Linked DNA regions of Homo sapiens: region 2 is linked to region 1. Evidence: promoter capture Hi-C in 16 types of primary human blood cells and fetal thymus (Javierre and others, 2016). All regions are on one chromosome and are shown on one strand. The core of a region is centred on a gene start or on the middle of the fragment in contact, and the rest is flanking DNA. Distances in the headings are between cores, read along the strand shown. Region 1 holds the start of DNAJB14 (DnaJ heat shock protein family (Hsp40) member B14). Region 2 holds the start of TSPAN5 (tetraspanin 5).

The links. The method cuts DNA at HindIII sites, captures the fragments that hold promoters and counts their contacts. A CHiCAGO score of 5 or more calls a contact.
Region 2: a contact is called between the fragment with the promoter of TSPAN5 here and the fragment with the promoter of DNAJB14 in region 1, in 2 of 17 cell types (non-activated CD4 T cells and activated CD4 T cells). The highest score is 7.1, in non-activated CD4 T cells.

What each region holds. Positions count from the first base shown.
Region 1 is chr4:99,944,800-99,948,693 of GRCh38, forward strand. DNAJB14 (DnaJ heat shock protein family (Hsp40) member B14) reads right to left here and starts at 1,819. Exons shown (of 8, transcript NM_001031723.4): 1 at 1,640-1,819. The coding sequence starts at 1,772. H2AZ1 (H2A.Z variant histone 1) reads right to left here. Exons shown (of 5, transcript NM_002106.4): 5 at 3,289-3,724. The coding sequence ends at 3,663. RefSeq lists an enhancer at 1,203-1,252 and a silencer at 1,423-2,082. The HindIII fragment of the contact is 11,087 bases long and covers 1-3,894 here.
Region 2 is chr4:98,657,157-98,660,962 of GRCh38, forward strand. TSPAN5 (tetraspanin 5) reads right to left here and starts at 1,455. Exons shown (of 8, transcript NM_005723.4): 1 at 990-1,455. The coding sequence starts at 1,070. It overlaps TSPAN5-DT (TSPAN5 divergent transcript), which reads left to right and starts at 1,746. Exons shown (of 3, transcript NR_148380.1): 1 at 1,746-1,866; 2 at 3,642-3,770. It overlaps LOC112267901 (a long non-coding RNA gene), which reads left to right and starts at 1,567. Exons shown (of 3, transcript XR_939016.3): 1 at 1,567-1,716. RefSeq lists silencers at 1,020-1,179, 1,433-1,612. The HindIII fragment of the contact is 4,978 bases long and covers 1-2,095 here.

The DNA.
Region 1 (3,894 bases), core at 569-3,068:
CTCCTCACCTCAAATGATCCGCCCGCCTCGGCCTCCCAAAGTGCTGGGATAACAGGCGTGAGCCACCGCGCCCAGCCTAATCAGTATTTTTTTAAAGAGGAATTCTTCACGTTACAACATAAATGAAACTTGGGAACATTATGCTAAGTGAAGTAAGACAGTCACAAAAAGATACTGCATGAATCTACCTATCTGAGGTAACTAAAGTAGTTAAATTCACAGAAACACAAAGTAGAATGGTAGTTGCCAGGGTCTTAGGAGACGGGGCGGTAGGGAGCTGTCTGATTAGTACACAGTTGTGTTGTAAGATGAAAAAGTTCTGAAGAGTCCTTGCACAACAATGTCAATATACTTCACTAATGGACTGCACACTTAAAAATAGTTAAGACCGTAAATTTGGCAGGTTTTTAAACCACAACTTAAAAAATTATTAACTCTTTTCTTTCATTTTATTTTCCTGTCCTCATGGGTATAGTGTTAGAAGGCAATGTAATGGAAAGGATAGAGAGAAAAGCAAAGAGCACAGGGCTTCAACGACGTAGAGAAAAAAATTTAAGAGACAACAAAACAAGTGGCCCCATATTTTCATTAATAATTTTCTACAATTAATTGAATCTATCGATAACTTTCTTCTTAACCTGGAAATACTAATGGCAAGGCAACAGTGTAGCGGTTAAAGGCCTTTTCGAGTCTGAAAGTTCAGCTACTATTCTGACTTTGCTACTAATTGTTGTGTGACCTTGGGTAAGATACTTTCATTCATTCGCTAATTCATTCATTAATTATCAGAAAGTCTGTTTCCACGTGGGTAAACCTGGTCAAATGAATCCTGCACCTCTACACAGAATTGTTCTGAGGAATAAATGAAATAATCCATGCAAAATGTTGGGCACAACTATTGGCACTTTGTGCTCAATAAATGTTGGCTATTATTACTCCGAAGCCTATCGAGTAGGAAAATAAATAAGCTGACTTCAACTAAAGGAAACCCAGTACCATATTCCTCAGAGATTTGGTTCGTCGATAATCATGGTGTTATCAAATCAGATACTCTTCAGCAATCATTACTGACTCTTGACCATTCTTGCCGAAAGTGTGCTCTTCTCTTTTAAAGGAACTCTCTCCCAGGGAAAAGCAATGTCATCTCAGGTATTCGATGTTTGCTTTGGGAACAGTTTTCTACAGATCTCAGAAACATGGAATCTGAGATTAGCCACTAGAGTACACCATTCCTCTCACTTCGATAGGGGCCTAGGCCTTATGTAGGACTGAGAATGGGGAGGGAGGGGGCCACATAAACAACACAGATACAAATAAAGCCTCACTGTGGTAAGACGGGACCAGACAAGTCTCCTCCAGGGAGAATGAAACCCGGACATTTAGGACAGCGGAACGCGGAGCCGGCGGGCAGGCGGGTGCAGAGGAACCTCGCGCAGCATTCCCCGAGCCCCAGCCCGGAGCCGGGGCTGGGGCCAGGGCGGGGGTGTGTCGGGATGCTCCCCACCGGGCCTGGGGCTGGGGCTGGCTCAGACAGGCCGGGGGCCCCGCAGGCCTCCAGGAGGGGCCGAGGTGGGGGCAGGGGCGGGCTACGCGGTGGTCTGGGGATTGGGCAGGAAGAGAAGGGACGCTGAGGTCTCACCGCGGGCCGAGGGCAGTGGGTAGAGCTTCTCGGCCTTCTGCAGGAAGCGCTGGGCCTTCTCGCGGTTGCCGGCGTTCAGGGCCTCCCGGGCGATCTCGACACATTTCTCAGCCTCATCCCTGTTCCCCTCCATAGCTTGCTCCTTCTTCCGTTTCCTCCGGCAGCGCAGCTAAGAAGGGCGGAAGCCGCCGCCGCGGAGGAGGCGAGGCGGGACCGGCTGGGGGCGTGCGGCGGCAGCGGGGAGGAGCGCAGGGGACCGCGGCAGCGGCTGCGACGGCCCGGGCGGACGGGCGGGCCTCGCAGCTCCGCCTCCTCACGGCGGCCTCCCCGCCCCCCGCGGGCCCCTAGGGCGCGATCCGCATCCGTCCCGGCCCAGGACCAACCTCCTGGGCCGGGGCGTCCGAGCTGACTCGGTGGTCCGCGCACGGCGCCAGCAGGCTCGAAGCGGACCTGCCCGGGAGGCGGACGATAGCAGCCGGGCTGCCCATCGCGGGGAGGGGTTCCGCCCGGGACCCGATTGCCGGCATTGGTAGCGCCGTGCCCTGTGACCTCCAGGCGAGGCCCTCGCAGCTCAGGCCAGGAGGACAGGGTCCGGGAAGGGGACACTCGTTTTCAGTAAAATTGCCAGGACTTGGAGGTTCCGCCTCTGGGCCCCTCAAGCGAGGGAGGATGCGGTCAGGTGAGGACCAAGGTGTCAGTCCAGTCTCAGCACTTCCGGGACACGTTAGAGCGTCGTTTGAACCTAATCTTAGGGCTTGTATGGCAGCCTTATTTCAGCTACATTTTTTCTGACCCGGATGTCTGGCTATCCAAAGTACAAAGCAGTTTAATTTGTAGCTTGCAACGAGTGGTGCAGATCGACCTTAATCCTGTGTAGCCAAAACAAGGCAGGAATCAGCCCCTCAGGGGCTGCCCTAACGAAAGCAAACTTTTGATTTCACCTTTTCCGTCCCATTTGGATAACATTACCACTTGGAAGTACCGTGTCTTGTTAGTCTTCGCGGTGGGGGTGGGGGGAATGTTTGCTATGTGCAAATTTTTTAAAAAAAAACATGACAAACTGTCAAAATGACCTGCTCAACCCAACCACAAGGTAACAATTTTTACATAATGCTGTGAGCCAAGCTGTTAATTCTGCTAACTACCATAACTCGGTACTTTCAAATAAGAAACCCTGCTTCTCTTCGATAAAATGGAGATAGTATATCCCCAATGATGTTACTGAGTACTTAACAACTTCAGACTTCAAAGCAGGGCCTGGCACGTAGCACTATTATCTTTAAAGTTTAAATTCGGAGTTCATTCTGTGGATATACAGGACATTCCTACCTATTCTCTCCCTCCCCAAGTCCACCATGCTAACAGCATACTAGTGCAGTGCTGTCACACAGCAAGCGAAGCCAATGTACAAACTGAAATGGTCACACTTAGCCTAAGAAACTGACAATCCCACTCCAGCTCCTGCCAACTTTTTAAATTAAAACTTTAGTAGCTCATATAACATTAAAAAAATATACTTGGGCTATCTCACTTTGTTGATCTACAGATTTGACAGTTCAGTCACAAAGAAATGTGCTTAGTTATTGCTGCTAGATGAGATACTCAAAACAAGTTCCTATTACAACCAAGCAAATTTAATACACAACTAGTTTGGGATATGACCTTTATTGAACTTATCCACCAGAGTGGAAATAATGTCTGTACAAAACCAAATGTTTGTTACTATAACTTCTGCATCACAATTAAAATCCAAACAGTTTTTTAAAAACAGTCAACTCAATCAAAACCCACTACTTCAGAATCAATAGCTTCTTTGAAGCCACAGTAACACTTAAATATGGTTAAGACTCGAATGCAGAAATTTGGTTGGTTGGAAAGCTAATTAAACTTCCAACTTGCTCAAATAGAATTACAAAAAGGCAAAATTGTGTTTTTCACAGAGATACAGTCCACTGGAATCACCAACACTGGACAGCTGTTAGAGTATTTAGAGTCCTGAGATAACAAGGAATCCAGGCATCCTTTAGACAGTCTTCTGTTGTCCTTTCTTCCCAATCAGAGATTTGTGGATGTGTGGAATGACACCTAGGAGAGTGACAGGAATTAATTCTACTTAAGATTTTTTAAAAAATCACAGTATTTGAAACCAAGAAAGTGTATACTGTTCAACTTGAAAGGTATCTTTAAAAACATGCAGCTCAAGTATGAAGTAAAAATTCATTGAGTTATACATATAAATCAAATTTCATGATACA
Region 2 (3,806 bases), core at 205-2,704, 1.3 Mb before region 1:
ACTCTTTGTCTGGCTGCTGAACACGTTTGCCAGATCAAGGAAAAGAATCAAAACAAACAAACAAACAAAAAGAGTAGGCGTCCCAGCCTAATTACAATAGGTTCCCAACACATTGCAGTCCCAAGCAGAGCATCATTTGAATCTTGTGTTAAAGCATTTGCTCTCTCGGTTCCCCAATAAAACATGCCTCGCACACCTTCTCCTTTGCATTTCTACAAAGGTTCCCCCAAACGGCCCGCTCTGTGTCACTCCTTTAAAAATGAGGACGTGGGGCAGGAACACACTGAAATATATGTTGACGGTGACTTATTATCCTGACGATGATATATACATACAAATAAATCCCTCTACCCCGCACCCCCACTGACCAGTCCATTACGCACAGGGAGCGCTTTCCAGCTGAAGAGGAGAGCGTGCAGGAAACGTTATTTACGTGCAATTACAGGACCATATACCACGGCATCTGCATCCTACACAAAGCCCGAGATGGTGCAAGAAGATACACGCTGAGCATGGCACAGACCAGCCGCGGCAACACGGAGCCAAGCCCTCGTCCAATCAGATCGTTGTTAGAAGGTGGACCTCAGGGTCGGCCGTGCCCGATTAGCCTTCCCTATTATGACACCACGCTCTGCCCAACATCTATATCCCACCGAGAGCAAATCCAATTCGTGTGGTTGCTCATTTCTCAAACTGCCGAACCCTTTCTTTTATCTGCATCCCTGCTATTCGTTCCTCAAAAAGCCACCAGAAGGCCTCGGTGCCCCCTTTCCGCCTCGATTTCTCTTTTCACCTCTTCCCATTCCTCGAAAGGATTAAATGTTTATCTCTCCAACGCGCAAGCTGGAAAGGCGGAAGGCGAATGCCTCTATGCTGCTCCGGCAAGCGCCTGCGGGGCTGCGAAAAGTAAAGGCAACGAACAACGTGGGGGAAATCGTCGCGAATCGATCGGCCACAATAGTTGGAATCCCAGGAGCGCTCCAACTTACCCAAAATATGACATTGAAGCCAAATATGAAGTATTTGATGCAACAACTGACTTCAGGACCCTTGTAGTGCTTCCCGGACATCCTCTGGGTTCATGAAGACACTTGCCCCGGCAGCCCGAGTTTGGAGCTCCGAAGCACCGTTGCTCGGAGCAGCCCGGCGGGGAGCAGGAGCTCAGGGACACCGCACGGGGCCGCGGCGCTGGCGGCCTGGGCTCAGCCGCGCGGGGACCGACCGGCGGAGAGCGGCTCCCGCACCTCCAGCCCCTCGCGCGCCGAGGCCGCCGGAGCCGGGGTGGCCGCGAGAAAGCAGGGAAGCCGCGCGCTGCAAGCTCAAGCCTCGCCGACGCTAGCCCCGAACACAAAGCGAGCGCCCGCGTCCGTGCGCCAGGCGGTCGGTCCGTCGGTTCGTCCCCGGGCTTCGGGCAAAGGCGGCCGCGGCAGATGCTGGTGGAGACGCCGCTCGCTTGCTCGCCCGCCCGTTCGCGCGCGCCCTCCCACCCCTCGCTCCGCCCGCCTCTCGCTCCGCCCGCCCGGCCGGCTGCTCCTCCGCCCGCGCCGCCCGCAGCTCCGCCCGCCGCCCAAGCCTTGGCTAGGCGCGCGCGCGCACGGGGTCGGGCGCTCCCGGGCGGCGGTGGCACCACGTAGCCGCCTCCTTCCACCGCTCGCTTTATCCCCGCCCCTTCTCGGGCCAACCCCAAGCGCCGCTGACCCCGAACGTCGCTGCGGGGTAGGTAGGGGGTGGGAGGGTGGAGGACCGCAGGCGAGAGGGAGAAGGAAGGGCGCCCGGGGAGCAGGCTGGCAGAGTGACCGGGATTGATGAGCGGCGCAGCTCTGGAGGGACGCGGGCGAGAGGGTCGCTCCTCGGGGAGAGGGCTGGGTGAGTGAGGACCTGCGAGCCACCCCCGACACCCCTTCCAGGGTAGCCACACTGGCGCCCCCTCCTCCACAACAGGCTTATGTGGCTAGAGAAGATGCGATGCCACTGGACAGGGAAGGAAAGTCGTCGTGGACTTCGCTGAATGGAAAAGGGGGTAGTTGGGGAAGGTGGAGAAAAGAGCCACGGGAAGTGGGAGGAAAGGATGAAGGGATGGGACGTTGAAAAGGAAAGCTTCCTGAATCCCTGTGTGACTCTAACCCAACCTCCCCACCTACCGGAGAAATGGGTTTTATCCTAGAAATGGGGACGAGGAAAAAGAGATGGCTCAAGGGAGTCCTGGCCCGGGATGCGATCCTCGCCCTAGGGTCTATTGCAACCACACAAACCCGGACAGCGCACGCTCCCCCCTACCCCGACAGAATAGTGCCTAAGAAACCTGCTTGCCTCCTAACTCTAGGAAGGAATCCACAACGGATTCCAGGGAGGTCTTCTGGGGAATCTGAATTGGGTTTTTGGATCACGAACCATTAAGCTTTTGAACTCTGGGGAAGAATAGAACAGGTGGCTGGAAATTGTTTTAGAACCCTACCTGAGCAGGTGTGCTCATTAGTTGCTTATCCGCCCTCCTCCTGGAGCACTTTCATAGGTGTTGGCAAAGCAGGTACCAGTATTTCACGGAAGGAGAAGGAAGAACCGCCCAGGACTGTGTATAAATGTCTATGGGAATATTTTTAAGGATTCAAAAGGCTAGAAGGAGGTGAGATCAAAAAATTTTTCCAGCACCACCCAGTGCAACCCGATCCTGGACACAGAAATCTAAAAGATGATACTTAAATACTTGAGTTTGAGAGCCTCTAGTTATAAGGTTTCCTACGTAACAACCTCTCACTTTTCTCAAAAACTGGCTAGTTGACAACCGGCAGTCAAGTTTTGGCTAGTCAAGAAGCTACTTTTTCCTGCAATAAACCACATTTAGAGATAGTACTGGGCTTCAGCAGGATTGAGGCTATATTGAGGTCGCAAGTATGAACGAGGTACCCACAGAGATGGGAGGGCCAGGAGATCCTACTCATTCAGTACCTCAGAAGCTATGACACGGGATAACAGTAGCTTCAGCCCTTTGGATGAAATAATCCTCACTCCCTCAAAAGTGCTCTCTACCCACTCAAAACACAGGCCATACTACCACCAATCTGGTAGACTTCAAAAGTAAGGTCTTTCAGCAGCAGATTTCCTTGTTAACAGGAAGGTACTGACAAGCTTTACCTAAGCCTATTGGAGCTATGTTGTAATTCTGTATATAAATAGAACAGTCGCTGCAGGAATACTGGATGAGTCAGAAGAAAGGTCTGTCCTAAGCTGATGTGACACATTTCAAAAGGACCAGAAATTAGATGCAATTGATGACTGAGTTGATCTCTAAGTGGATTTATCTTTGAAATAAAAATCAGTGGATATCCCATATACCCGACCCCACACCCTCCCCCATTGTCAACATCCCCAACCAAAGTAGCACATTTGCTACAAATAGTGAACCTACATTGCCAGATCATTATCACCCAAAGTCCATAGTTTACATTAGGGTTCACTCTTGGGGCTGTATATTCTATAGGGTTGGACAAATATAGAATAACATGAACCCACCCTCATAGTATCATAGTATCATACAGAGTATTTTCACTGCCCTAAAAGTCCTCTGTACACCACCTATTTATCCCTTCCTCCCCCCAGTCTCTGGCAGCCACTGAAGTTTGACTGTATCCCTGTCTCCTTAGTTTTGCCTTTTCCGGAATGCCATATATAAGGAATCATACAGTATGCAGTCTTTCTTTCAATTTTGCTGTGAAACTAAAACTGCTAAGAAAATAAAGTCTTAAAAAGAAAAATCAATGGAGAAGGGAAAGGTAAGATAACTAATCAGTAATTTGGAGGGGGGGGTG